Regions from separate parts of the Homo sapiens genome. Here region 2 is linked to region 1. Evidence: promoter capture Hi-C in 16 types of primary human blood cells and fetal thymus (Javierre and others, 2016). All regions are on one chromosome and are shown on one strand. Each heading gives the region's core, a stretch centred on a gene start or on the middle of the fragment in contact. The rest is flanking DNA. Distances are from core to core; before and after follow the strand shown. Region 1 overlaps STAT5A (signal transducer and activator of transcription 5A). Region 2 holds the start of ATP6V0A1 (ATPase H+ transporting V0 subunit a1).

Evidence for each region. The method cuts DNA at HindIII sites, captures the fragments that hold promoters and counts their contacts. A CHiCAGO score of 5 or more calls a contact.
Region 2: a contact is called between the fragment with the promoter of ATP6V0A1 here and a fragment that was not itself captured in region 1, in 17 of 17 cell types (megakaryocytes, total B cells, naive B cells and 14 more). The highest score is 17.6, in megakaryocytes.

What each region holds. Positions count from the first base shown.
Region 1 is chr17:42,309,469-42,316,730 of GRCh38, reverse strand. STAT5A (signal transducer and activator of transcription 5A) reads right to left here. Exons shown (of 19, transcript NM_001288718.2): 18 at 7,247-7,262; 19 at 4,788-6,224. The coding sequence ends at 6,062. It overlaps STAT3 (signal transducer and activator of transcription 3), which reads left to right. Exons shown (of 24, transcript NM_139276.3): 24 at 931-3,407. The coding sequence ends at 986. Among named protein-coding and RNA genes, the nearest start is that of STAT5A, 25 kb to the right of the region's middle. RefSeq lists silencers at 3,949-4,108, 4,229-4,328, 4,399-4,538 and an enhancer at 5,791-5,840. The HindIII fragment of the contact is 2,719 bases long and covers 2,939-5,657 here.
Region 2 is chr17:42,454,214-42,461,475 of GRCh38, reverse strand. It overlaps ATP6V0A1 (ATPase H+ transporting V0 subunit a1), which reads right to left and starts at 2,598. Exons shown (of 22, transcript NM_001130021.3): 1 at 2,513-2,598; 2 at 465-628. The coding sequence starts at 581. RefSeq lists a silencer at 2,529-2,738 and an enhancer at 2,889-2,978. The HindIII fragment of the contact is 8,228 bases long and covers 1-4,735 here.

The DNA of each region.
Region 1 (7,262 bases), core at 3,049-5,548:
TGCTCTCACATGTACACACCGAGAGCTGGTCACTCGGAATGGTAGGAGATTCTAGAGCTTTGCTTTCCAAAAGAGATGGTATGAATGCCACATGTGTGAGTATAAATCTTCTAGCAGCCACACTGGAAATAGACGAACTTAATTTTTACAATATATTTTATTTAACCCACTAAATCCAACATACTCTCAATTTAACATTTCAGAAAAAGTTGAGGCTGGGTGAGTGGCTCATGCCTGTAATCCCAGCACTTTGGGAGGCCGAGGTGGGTGGATCACTTGAGGTCAGGAGTTCGAGACCAGTCTGACCAAAATCTCTAAAATATAAAAATTAGCTGGGCATGGTGGCGCATACCTGTAATCCCAGCTACTCAAGAAGCTGAGGTGGGAGGATCGCTTGAGCCTGGGAGGTGGAGGTTGCAGTGAGCAGAGATCGTGCCACTGCACTCCAGCCTGGGCGACAGAGTGAGACTCCATCTCAAATAAACAAAACTAAACTAAAAAGAAAAAGTTGAGACCTTTTTTTATTCTTTTTTTTCATACTAAGCCTTTAAAATCCAGTGGGCTTTTGACAGCCACAGCACAGCTCAGTTTGGACAAACCAAATCTCAAATGCTTGGTGGCCACGTGTGTCTCGGGGCTCCTGAATTAAACAGTAGATCAAGGGCAGAAGATCTCAGGACAGCCTTAGAGCTTCTGTAAACATGGAGCTCTGGGAATCAGTTAAGGTGGGAATGAGAAAGGACCCTTCCCGAGGCAGGGTCCTCCAGGGAGGAGGGTAAATCTGGCTTTTCTGACCATCCCTGGGCCTTAAGGGGCAGGAGATTGGATAGCAGTGGTAGCCTGGGCCCTGTCCTCTGAAGGGCTGGGGGCGTGGCCTGCCAGTTGCAGAGGGTGGACAACTGAACTAGTTTTCCCTGTCTGTCCCTCCAGAGTCCCTCACCTTTGACATGGAGTTGACCTCGGAGTGCGCTACCTCCCCCATGTGAGGAGCTGAGAACGGAAGCTGCAGAAAGATACGACTGAGGCGCCTACCTGCATTCTGCCACCCCTCACACAGCCAAACCCCAGATCATCTGAAACTACTAACTTTGTGGTTCCAGATTTTTTTTAATCTCCTACTTCTGCTATCTTTGAGCAATCTGGGCACTTTTAAAAATAGAGAAATGAGTGAATGTGGGTGATCTGCTTTTATCTAAATGCAAATAAGGATGTGTTCTCTGAGACCCATGATCAGGGGATGTGGCGGGGGGTGGCTAGAGGGAGAAAAAGGAAATGTCTTGTGTTGTTTTGTTCCCCTGCCCTCCTTTCTCAGCAGCTTTTTGTTATTGTTGTTGTTGTTCTTAGACAAGTGCCTCCTGGTGCCTGCGGCATCCTTCTGCCTGTTTCTGTAAGCAAATGCCACAGGCCACCTATAGCTACATACTCCTGGCATTGCACTTTTTAACCTTGCTGACATCCAAATAGAAGATAGGACTATCTAAGCCCTAGGTTTCTTTTTAAATTAAGAAATAATAACAATTAAAGGGCAAAAAACACTGTATCAGCATAGCCTTTCTGTATTTAAGAAACTTAAGCAGCCGGGCATGGTGGCTCACGCCTGTAATCCCAGCACTTTGGGAGGCCGAGGCGGATCATAAGGTCAGGAGATCAAGACCATCCTGGCTAACACGGTGAAACCCCGTCTCTACTAAAAGTACAAAAAATTAGCTGGGTGTGGTGGTGGGCGCCTGTAGTCCCAGCTACTCGGGAGGCTGAGGCAGGAGAATCGCTTGAACCTGAGAGGCGGAGGTTGCAGTGAGCCAAAATTGCACCACTGCACACTGCACTCCATCCTGGGCGACAGTCTGAGACTCTGTCTCAAAAAAAAAAAAAAAAAAAAGAAACTTCAGTTAACAGCCTCCTTGGTGCTTTAAGCATTCAGCTTCCTTCAGGCTGGTAATTTATATAATCCCTGAAACGGGCTTCAGGTCAAACCCTTAAGACATCTGAAGCTGCAACCTGGCCTTTGGTGTTGAAATAGGAAGGTTTAAGGAGAATCTAAGCATTTTAGACTTTTTTTTATAAATAGACTTATTTTCCTTTGTAATGTATTGGCCTTTTAGTGAGTAAGGCTGGGCAGAGGGTGCTTACAACCTTGACTCCCTTTCTCCCTGGACTTGATCTGCTGTTTCAGAGGCTAGGTTGTTTCTGTGGGTGCCTTATCAGGGCTGGGATACTTCTGATTCTGGCTTCCTTCCTGCCCCACCCTCCCGACCCCAGTCCCCCTGATCCTGCTAGAGGCATGTCTCCTTGCGTGTCTAAAGGTCCCTCATCCTGTTTGTTTTAGGAATCCTGGTCTCAGGACCTCATGGAAGAAGAGGGGGAGAGAGTTACAGGTTGGACATGATGCACACTATGGGGCCCCAGCGACGTGTCTGGTTGAGCTCAGGGAATATGGTTCTTAGCCAGTTTCTTGGTGATATCCAGTGGCACTTGTAATGGCGTCTTCATTCAGTTCATGCAGGGCAAAGGCTTACTGATAAACTTGAGTCTGCCCTCGTATGAGGGTGTATACCTGGCCTCCCTCTGAGGCTGGTGACTCCTCCCTGCTGGGGCCCCACAGGTGAGGCAGAACAGCTAGAGGGCCTCCCCGCCTGCCCGCCTTGGCTGGCTAGCTCGCCTCTCCTGTGCGTATGGGAACACCTAGCACGTGCTGGATGGGCTGCCTCTGACTCAGAGGCATGGCCGGATTTGGCAACTCAAAACCACCTTGCCTCAGCTGATCAGAGTTTCTGTGGAATTCTGTTTGTTAAATCAAATTAGCTGGTCTCTGAATTAAGGGGGAGACGACCTTCTCTAAGATGAACAGGGTTCGCCCCAGTCCTCCTGCCTGGAGACAGTTGATGTGTCATGCAGAGCTCTTACTTCTCCAGCAACACTCTTCAGTACATAATAAGCTTAACTGATAAACAGAATATTTAGAAAGGTGAGACTTGGGCTTACCATTGGGTTTAAATCATAGGGACCTAGGGCGAGGGTTCAGGGCTTCTCTGGAGCAGATATTGTCAAGTTCATGGCCTTAGGTAGCATGTATCTGGTCTTAACTCTGATTGTAGCAAAAGTTCTGAGAGGAGCTGAGCCCTGTTGTGGCCCATTAAAGAACAGGGTCCTCAGGCCCTGCCCGCTTCCTGTCCACTGCCCCCTCCCCATCCCCAGCCCAGCCGAGGGAATCCCGTGGGTTGCTTACCTACCTATAAGGTGGTTTATAAGCTGCTGTCCTGGCCACTGCATTCAAATTCCAATGTGTACTTCATAGTGTAAAAATTTATATTATTGTGAGGTTTTTTGTCTTTTTTTTTTTTTTTTTTTTTTGGTATATTGCTGTATCTACTTTAACTTCCAGAAATAAACGTTATATAGGAACCGTCTGATAGCATGGCAGCTCTGTTTGGCTGGTGGAGGCTTCCTTTTCCCCTGCATAAGTTCTGAGGGGGCCTCACACACAGGTGGGGCCTGGGATAAGGGCCGGAAAGGGTCTTGAGAGGAGGTGGTTGCCTTAATCCCCCCCGCCAACCCCCTTATGTTAGCCACCAGCCCGGAGGTAAGGGGTGCCTGGAGGAGCAGGAGGTCAATAGTCCAACGGCAGAAAGGTGTCAGAGTGGAGGCCTCCCTCCCCGGCCCCCTCCTACCCCCCAGAGCGGCCTCGTCCTGTCTGGGGTCAGATAAGCCACCTAAGCGGGGTGGGGGGTAGATACTCCCACCGCACCAAGGCCTCCCCTTCCACAGTTGGCTCCTTTATCACTTTCCCTTCAGTTCACCCAGCGGGGACAACACGCAGACACCCGGTGGTGGCTGCAGGGCCCCCGGCAGCCAGCGGTGATAATGCAGGGAAAGGCGCCCCAACCTCAGCTACGCGGGCGCCCACAGGGCTTCTCCCCACCCCTACACGTGCCCCAGCGCCCTGGAGACCGCGCCTGGGAGCTACGAGCGAGCACCTTCCCTCGCAGAGATGGATCAGATTAGCCCCCTGGGGCGGTGGCACCTGCCCGTCCCCTCCCCTCCTCTCTTCTCCCACCCCCGCCTTCCCCCTGCTCTGGGCCCCCTGCACCTCCCTCTTGGGGCCCACGCGCCGCCCCTCTCCCTCGCTTGAGCTCTGAGCTCAGAAGGAACCTGCCCGCAAACCTGGCTCCCAGCCCCGCCCAGGGAGCGCGCGTCCCTGAGCCCAAGGGCCCCAGCGACAGCAGGGACTGGCTGCAGCCGGCAGTGCGGGGGTCCAGCCGGGGCGAGCCGGTCCCGCTTGCTGCACCTCCGCCTCGCACAGTCGCCGGCAGCCAGCTGAAAACAGCGCAGCCGCGTGGTGCCACCTGCTGGTCTCTGGGAAGGAGGAGGATGGGACGGTTGTTGCGGCTCTGGGACTGCCCCTGGCCCCGAGGGTTGAGAAGCATCTTGGCGCCGGGCCCTCAGCCGCCAGCTTCGAGGCTGCTGGGAGCAGCAGCTGCTAAGGAGAAGCCTGGGTCAGAGTTCTGCCCACCCGCGCCCATCTCCATCATTTCCCCAAACCTCGAGTCCCCTGCTTTTTAAGGAATCTGTGCCCCCTAAACTGGCTCCTTACCCTTCTGAGAAGCATTGACAGTATTCCAGGGGTGGCCAGCACCCTGAAAACCACAGCAAAGCGGGCAGAGTTAAAATTTAAGACTAAAAATGACAGCATCAGGCATGCACGCGGGAAGGAACAGAACAACCAGCTCCAGGGGTTCCCATCACCCAGGGAGGCCACCAACGCCCCAACCAGGAGCCATAGCAGCAAATTTATGAAAAAAATATTTTATTCCAAAACACTGTTTACACAAATGTGTGGTCTTTGTACAAAGTACAAAAAAACCCCTCTTCTCATCCCCACCTCCCTTCAGAGAAGTTTAAACCTTGGGCTCTCAATCTTCCATGGTCAGCTGCCCCTGACTGCGAGTCCTACAGCCTCAGAGGGAGGAGCGTGTGGGGTTGGGAGCAAGGCCTCACCAGAACACAGCCAGTTACGCAACAGCGCAAGGCCTGCTCCAGGCCCCACCTCCAGCGGAGTCAAACCAGATCAGCTTTTACCCCTCACTCCAGATTCCACAGGCACGCAGCACATGGCTGATTTGCAGCTTGTCTTTCACTGCAGTTTTTTGTTTTTGTTTTTTCCAGGAGGCAAGAGGACCAACCCTCCAAGTCCCGGGGCCCCTGTCCACCCACCATATCCTAGACCCAATCTTTTCTACCTCTTTGTCGACAAGGTTACAAACAGAGAGGCAAGCAAAGAAGGCTGGGGCCCAACGGAGGGGAGAGAATATATATCCCGGGAAACGTGGGCAACAGCATCATAGACTTGAATGAAGCCCAAGGCCAAGCAGCCAAGCAAGGACTAATTCAGAGCAGCTCAGAAACCCTCACTCAAACCGGCGGCCCCCCTGTGCTAAGGACATGGCCGGGCCCAGACGCGCTCTCATAGGGTTCACAGAGAGTCTGGAGTCCACGTTCACTAAAGTATAAAATACTACTCGAAAATGAACCCCAGCCTCCCTTCTGAGAGATGAATCGGTTACATCAACACATGAGGACAGATGCATTTACATAGACCCACACACTCTCTCTTTCTCTCTCTCTGTCTCTCTGTCTCTCTCTCTTAGGAGGGCAAAGCTTCTCACTCCGGAGTGAAACTTCAGCTTACAGACGTTACCTGTCTCCCCTCCCCTTCTGAATCATCTCATTCAAATAGCTGCTGAGCAGATGAGGGGCCCAGGAGGAATAGGTCTGGCTGCATTGAGTGCCTGCAGTGACAGAGGCTCGGTCTCTACCATGACAGAGACAGACTCGGCGCACTCTTGGATGCCATGATCTGAAAAGAGGCCACCGCTGCTGCAGCCACATCCCAGGACTGCACAGGGGAGGCAGGCGTAGCTCATGCACAAGGACACACACACACACACACACACAAGCACATGCATGCCTGCAAAGGTGTCAGTGTACACAGCCTTACTAAACTCACAACACGACCGCTTCACATTGCATATTGTTTCCAAAGAGAAGCGTGGGATTCAAACATTCATGAGAGGGAGCCTCTGGCAGAGGTGAAAAGACCGGCAGGGGGCGAGAGGCGGGAGTCAAGACTGTCCATTGGTCGGCGTAAGAGTTCCTCCACGTGCCTGGCCACATCCATGGTCTCATCCAGGTCGAATTCTCCATCCTGATCGAGTACATGGTCAGGGCTGGTAAAGACAGGGGGATGTCAGAGGGAGCTGGCATGTCTCACAGCCTCAAGCTCCCTGGGGACAGCCTCCAGCCTGCTCTCCACTCAAACCCGTCTCATGAGAACAGGACCAGTTCTGGCTGGATGCCCCCACCCCACCCCAAGCTGGGTAGCAGTCAGCCCACTGGCTTCTGCAGACCCCCACTCTATTCGCATCTCTTGCTAACTCACTGAATAATCTTAGGGAATTCATTTCCCCTCTCCGTGTCCTCATCTTAAAACCAGGTGGCTGACACAGTGGGCTCTGCCCACCTGCAATGATGCTCAGCTGCAATGGTAGGCACCGCCCCGTTCACTGAGCACTTAGAACAGCTGAATCTTTTCACTGAGCACCTAGAACAGCTGAGCCTATTGAGCACATGACTCCAATTTTTACAGCCAACTGGAGAGTGGGTATTGACCCCGTTTTATAGACGAGAAAACCAAGGCCATATCAGGAAGCTTGCTCTGGGCCACCTGGCTGGGAGGTGGTGGAGTCCGGATTGGAACCTGGGATCTTCAGTGGTCCCACTGGAAGGTGGTACCTCCCAGACATCCAGCCCTGGCTATCCACAGTGAGGAAGGGAATTAATTATCTACCTTGTTCCCACCAGACTCAAGAACAACCACCCCATTCATAGCTACCCTGTATCAAGCCCTTCCAAGCCCCTCCCTGTGGAAATGCTTCACCCACACTGTCTCAGTTTAATGCTCATCCCATTCTCATGAGGCAAGCATTCTTGCCTCCGTTTTACACATAAGGAAACTTGAGCATCAGAGAGGCTCAATCATTTTCCCAAGATCACACAGTTAGTACTAGAGTGAGGACTTGACCCTGCTATGTCTAGCTTCAAAATGCTCTGTTTTCCTGGCTGATCTCACTCCTCCTGGACTTGGGCCTAACCAGAGCTCTGGATCCTTTGCCCGCCAGCCCTCCAGGAGTCCAGCCTGGGGCCAAGTCCCCAGTTCTTCCCCTGCGGACCCCATGAGAACACCACCTACTTCTGTGGGTACATGT
Region 2 (7,262 bases), core at 1,349-3,848, 150 kb before region 1:
TTAGATAGCTTCTCCAAGTGCCCAGTATAATATTCCAAAATAATGAATATTCAGTATATGCTTATTTATATACTATATATCTGTAGCTGGATACCTCAAATTTTATTTTTTTTAAAATGTCCTACTATATGGAAAAACTGCAATATATTTTTTTAAATACCTTGCTATTTAGCAAGTGAAAGCCTTGATCAGGTTAGTTTGGTAACCTCTCCCTGCATCCCAAACAATTACCTGGAGAATGCTTAGGACTGTTCTGAAAGTGGGAGCTAGCAAAAGCATGTAAAGATTGGCACAAAACATTCTCACCTTTAGAAAGACAACTCAAAATGTGCATTCTGCCAATAGGAAGTCAGTGCTATAATGTTATTTTTGCAAATAAAAAACAAAACATTCATCATAAGGCATCTGACCACGATAGCAATAGAGTTCAGCAGTAATCAAGTCGCAGCCCCACAACTACTTACGTCACGAAACTGAACCTTTCCAAGTTCTCCTAATTCACTGACACAACAATAAGCAGCCTCTGACTGTAGAAAAAGCTGGGCCAGTGTCATTTCTTCACTCCGGAAAAGCTCCCCCATGGTGGCAGAAGGTACCAGTCTAGTGAGTACCTGGATTTCTCTCCAACCTGAAGCAAAGAGAAAATGACATAACTTTGGAAATTACCACGAGGGCTAAGAGCAAATGACACCCCACTACGGCTCTTGCATTTACATTTCTAACACCCCATGAGGACAGGTCAACAACTGTTTTTGACACCCTGTCTAGAAAGATGGAAAGGAGAAATTGCAAAGGCAGTTCCTGAATTCTGTCCCACAGAGTGTCAGATGAAAAGTCACTTCCATTCCAGTCAACATCAGGATCAAATGACAATTATTTTGGGCAACTCAACTGATAAGAATGTATCCAGATTAAAGACAGGAACTGGGAACCTCAAACAACTCTTTAAATACCCAGGACACAATATTGAGGCAGTGAGTTTCACACTGCTCAATCTGTTTTTGCTAGTGCAGGAAACAAACAGAAGAGGCCTTCAATACCCTCTCATAAAGATGTCTGCCTTGTAACTATCCTTCTCCCTTCTACTGACAATGCGCATTTCTAAAAGCCCAAAGTTCTGGCACTATCCTAAAGCTATGGCTACACTAAAGGGTTTAATCTTCCAGATTCCTCAGAAAACAATATTTCCCCACTTAGGAATTCAAACAAATAACCGTCATCTGGAAAAAGCAACCAGTTTGCATATTAAGCTCAATTTCAAATCAAGCATGACAGGAACACACTGATAATGACAAAGCAGTTTTATCAAGCCACAGAGAATAAGCCTTCCACCTCTGCAGCTTTCTGTTTCTCAACCCTACCTTCAAGATTAATTACATTCTTCCATCTGTCAAATCTCATGAGCCAATAAAGGTTTCGTTTTAGTGCTGTCTTACTGTTGCCGGGTATGAGACAACTGGCGCTATCAGTGGTCCTGAAACTGCAATTATTTATTCTCGATCAGCTAATGTAAGGCACAGCCTGTCCAGTATCCAAACTCAGAAAAATGCACAGTATTTTTAGTGTCATAAGGGCATCTATACTGAGTACTGATAGATGAGTCTGACATCAAAGGAAGATTTACTCTTCTGGAAGGCTGGGAGACATTTTGAGAAATCTGAACGAACAAACCTTTGTGCATGTGATGTTCAAGACAGTAACACAAGCTCAGACATAAGCAAGGACTTCTCAAGAGAATATGCAGGCTGACTTTAAGATTCTGTACATCTGAATCATCCAAATCAGCTGTTACCGGCACCACCCTTAAACAAAGAGAGATTCTACAACCTCTAAACACATAAAATTAGGCCTGGTCAGCATAGTTCAGGAGCTGTGGATAATGATAAGCCTCCAACGAGTCGCCTCCGTCCTCCTGCTCTTTAATGATTATAGGTCTCCCAAGAATATCTCTATAGCAATGGAGGCTAACAGAAAACTAATTAGGCCAAAGTAGTTCTGGACGATCACAAAACAAAATATGAAGAAACAGCAATTCTGCAAAAGATGAGTCCAACTACAGCGCCCCCGCGCCCTGCCTAGAAGAATCTCACTCCTGTCATCCGGTCCTCGCCTCCTCCCACGGTATTCACCTGCTTCATTTCCTGTCTACCCAATGAGCAGGAATTCTCTGGACTCAGGCTCATCTACCTTGAGATGGGAAAAAAGGAGAGGAAAACCCCCAAACTGAGAAACCCTTTAAGAAGCCCCCTAAATTCTTCTGCCTATCCAATAACCTCCGGTTCCTCCGCCTACCCCTTAAAGCAGGGAAGAGATGCGGGGCTTCCAAAGGGCAGTGAGCCTCCGGTTCCTCAGGGCAGAGGAGGGGTGCCCAAGGAGGGGGCGAACCCCCATTTTATCTCGAAGACGTCAGATCCCCGCTAATTCCTCTGACAATCAAGGGGGCTCTTAGAAGGATTTCCTACGTCCATCGAGGGCCGCTCCCTGTTGCGCTAAACCTACAGCCCCCACTCACCTCCAAACTCCGCCACAGCAACCGCCACAGAAACCACCGCAGCCAAACCCGCACCCTCCGCGGCTCCAGGAGCAGCGCTTCGACGTGCTTGCGTCCGTAAAGCCCCGCCCCTGCGCCGCCGCCGGCCCCCGCCCCCGCAATGACCTCATTGCAGTTGGCCAATGGGGCGCAGCCTCGCCCGGGCTGCAGCAGTGCGGAGTCACGGGGGTCGCAGGCGAGACCCAGCGTGCTGACGCCATGTTGGCCCCTGTGCTGTATCTCCACGCTGGGGAGGGTTAGCGGGTGGGGCTGGAGGTGCAGGTGCTCGAGGCCTTAAGTTCCTGAGCCTCCCTGAATCCTTTTTCTTACCCCTTATACTGGGGTAGGTTGTCTTTTCTCTTTCTTTTTTTTTTTTTGAAGTCTCATTCTGTTGCTCAAGCAGGAGTGCAGTGGCGTGATCTCGGCCCACTGCAACCTCCACCTCCCGGGTTCAAGCGATTCTCCTGCCTCAGCCTCCCAAGTAGCTGGGACTACAGGCACGCACCACCATGCCCGGCTAATTTTTGTATTTTTTTTTTTTTTAAGTAGAGACGGGGTTTCACTATGTTGGCCAGGCTGAGTCTCGAATTCTGACCTCGTGATCCACCCGCCTCGGCCTCCCAAAGTGTTGGGATTACAAGCGTGAGCCACCACGCCCGGCCTTTTTTTTTTTTTTTTTTTTTTTTTTTTAGATGGTCTGTTTCCCAGGCGGGAATGCAGTGGCGCGTTCTCGGCTCACTGCAGCCTCCGCCTCCCGGGTTCAGGGGATTCTCCTGCCTCAGCCTCCCTAGTAGCTGAGATTACAGGCACGCACCACGCCACCCGGCTATTTTTGTATTTTTTGTAGAGATGGGGTTTCGCCATGTTGCCCAGACTGGTCCTGGCCTCCACCCGCCTCGGCCTCCCAAAGTGCTGGGATTACAGGTGTGAGCCACCGCGCCCGGCCCTCTCTTTATTTTCATATCCAAAGAATTAATTCACACATACGCACCCAAATAATTAATGTCTTCTCTCTTTATTTTCATATCCAAAGAATTCACACACACACTCAAATAATTAATACGCAGACACATATACCACCCTTTCTCTTTTCCCTTATTTTACAGATGAGAACATTTGAGCCCCAGACTGGGGAGCGGCTAGCTTTAGATCCTGTAGTAGAGTCTTTAACGGGGTCTCATTTGCATAAGTATGGAAAACCTCTCTTTAAATGGTACATGGTTCATGCCTTCCAGCAACTTCCCCGGGTCTATTTTTCTCTGTTTAACAGGAAAAACCTCATCAGACCATATGTTGTGAAAGTACATTTCAGTCTTGTTTGGTAGATTCATGTGGGCTCAATTGACCACTTAGGAGTTTTCAATTCCTCAAATTTATTTTAAAAACATTTTTTATGGCTTGTACTCAACTTGTAAATTAAATATTGAAAAACATTTTTTAAACGCAAAAGTGATGTCTATTATTTTTTAAATGCCATTATCAAATATTGATATTGATTCCCTTTTCTTGCCCTTTTAAAGAAGAGTAGGGATCTCAAGTCGTTTGTGATAACCAGAATTGTATCAGGAAAAACTCAGAAAACCGGTTATTCTGTCTTCCTGGGTGGTGGAACCCTGTTGAAATTCAAGTGTAATGAGGGAGATATTCCAGATAAAAACTTGTTGCTGATAATTTTGTCAACCTGACAAAAACATCATCAAACCTGCTTTACCAGCCTAAACAAAATAAGGGGACAAAAATGGACGTTTTATTTGAATTTATTGTCTCATATTGTGAGTGAAGATATAACCTGACTTCAATACAACCTTCTTAAGACACAGAGTCTTGGAGAGACCCATACCCTCCTTCTCCCTGCTCCCTAGCTCTCAACCCTTCTGGCAAGACAGATCGGGACCCACATTTAAAAGCCTGCCAAGTTAGAGAAAACTGTTACACAATATCATTTCCTTCCTCTGAGACTTAAAAAAAAATTAACCTCAGTCAGCTGCTTGCTAACCACAAATTTTTCATACTCCACTTTTAAGACAGCCTTTCCTGTGGACTTACTTCAATTCCCTTGAACTCTTTTCACGGCTTCTTTGAAAGAATATTGTTTCAGAACTCCTTTTCTGTTTGCTTCCATCTCCTGCCATCAATCTTTCCTCAGTGTTCTATTTATTTTCCCTCCATGCTGTCTTCCTTGATGGTCTTGAGTGTTGTCAAGCTTAAACGTTTATGTGTAGGACTCTTATCTGTTTTTCCACCTGACTTCCTTCTTCAAGACTCAGAAATGGAATTTCATACTGCCTGCTTGATAGTGCCTTTTAGGCAGCAGATGCTTGCTGAGGGCCTACTGTGTGCCAGAGAGGGGTACTAGGTGCTGGGGATAGAAAATGAAACAGACATGCTTCTTATCCTTGGAGAGCTCATGGTTCAGTGAGAAAGAAACTTCCCAAATGGCAAGAGAGAGAGGAGTGCAGTGATTAATACTTACTATGTGCCAGGCACTTTTCTACATGCTTGGTAAATACAAACTCATTTAATCCTCACAACAACATTAGGAGGCAGTTACTATTATTATCCCCATATAACAGATGATATGGTAAAACTGAGGCATATGTCCAATAAGATCAAATTTAAAATGCTGTTGACCACACCTACAGCCCTAGAAGACATGAGCAATTCCATATGAGGCTTGGCCAGTGACACAGTTCCGAGTATCTAAACCGAGCTATTCCCTAGCATTTGTGAAAATGGCTAAAAAACAATTAAAGCCAGGTGTGGTGGCTCACGCCTGTAATCCCAGCACTTTGGAAGGCTGAGGCGGGTGGATTACCTGAGGTCGGGAGTTTGAGACCAGCCTGGCCAACATGGTGAAAACTCATCTCTACTAAAAATACAAAAAATTAGCTGGGGATGGTGGTGCATGCCTATAATCCCAGCTACTCAGGAGGCTAAGGCAGGAGAACCACTTGAACCCAGGAGGCGGTGGTTGCAGTGGCCAAGATCGCGCCATTGCCCTCCAACCTGGGCAATAAGAGCAAAACTGAGTCTGAAAAAAAAAAAAACAGTTATAAAGATTAGTTCTTCACTACCACAAAAAGAATAGAACAGAGGTAGGGATCTAACTGATAGAGTCTCAAAATGTTACAAGAATTGTCACTGTAGTGAAATTATTAAATGTGGTTTTTTATCTTTAATTTTTAGTTTGAATGAATGCGTGTCAATTGTCCAAATTTCCACCAGTGAAGAATCAGCTAGCTCATCTTAGCTTATCCCACTTAGATTCCTAGATGGGGCCTAGAGGAGAGTTTTAACGTTAAGCCCGGTGTTTTGAAATACGTATCTGCTCCAGTGTCTTCTCCACAGGCTTCCAGTATTCGTTTCCCTAAGGCTGCCATACAAATAACCACAACCTGGGTAGCATTTAAAACAACAGAAATCAGGTCAGCCGAGGTGGCTCACGCCTGTAATCCTAGCACTTTGGGAGACCGAGGCCAGCCTGTCACCTGAGGTCAGGAGTTCGAGACTAGCCTGGCCAACATGGGGAAACCCCATCTCTACTAAAAATACAAAAATTAGCAAGACATGGTGGTGGGCGCCTGTAGTCTCAGCTACTTGGGAGGCTGAGGCAGGAGAATCACTTGAACCCAGGGGGCAGAGGCTACAGTGAGCCAAGTTTGCGCCACCTCACTCCAGCTTGGATGAAAAAGCAAAACTGTGTCTCAAAAAAACAAAAAACAACAGAAATCGGCCATGCACGGTGGCTCACTCCTGTTATCCCAGCACTTTGGGAGGCCAAGGCAGAAGGATGGCTTGAGCCCAGGAGTTTGAGACCAGCCTGGACAACACAGCAAGACCCACGTCTGTAAAAAAAAAAAAAAAAAAAAATTAGCTGGGCATGGTGGCACGTGCCTGTAGACCCAGCTACTCAGGAGGCTGAAGTGGGAGGATGGCTTGAGCCTGAGCCAGGGAGGTTGATGCTGCTGCAGGGAGCCGTGATTGAGCCACTGCATTTCAGCCTGGGTGACACAGTGAGGCCCTGTCTCAAAAAAACAAAAACACCGAAATTTATTCTCTCACAGCGGAGGCTAGAAGTCTGAAATTAAGGTGTCTGCAGAGCATGGTATCTCCAAAGGCTCTGGGAAAGAATCCTTTCTTCCCTCTTCCTGGCTTCTGGTGGTTGCCAGAAATCCTTGGTGTTCCTTGGCTTATAGATGCATCATTTCAATTGTTGCCTCCATCGTCACATGGTATTCTTTCTTCTATATGTCTTTTTTTTTTTATTTGAGATAGAGTCTTGCTCTGTCGCCCAGACGAGTGCAGTGGCGCAATCTCAGCTCACTGCAACCTCCACCTCCCAGGTTCAAGCAATTCTCCTGCCTCAGCCTCCTGAGTAGCTGGGATTACGGGTGTGCACCGCCACGCCCAGCTAATTTTTGTATTTTCAGTAGAGACGGGGGTTCGCCATACTGCTCAGGCTAGTCTCGAACTCCTGGCCTCAAGTGATCCACCCGCCTCAGCCTCCCAAAGTGCTGGGATTACAGGAGTGAGCCACTGCACCCGGCCTTCTCTATGTGTCTCTGTCTGTAGGCAAATTCTCCTCTTCTTATAGGGGCACCAGCCATTAGATTAGGGCACCACTTAATCCAGTATGATCCCATCTTAACCTGATTACATCTGCAAATATCCTATTTCCAAATGAGGCCACCTTCACAGGTTCCCCGTTATACATGAATTTTTTTTTCTTTTC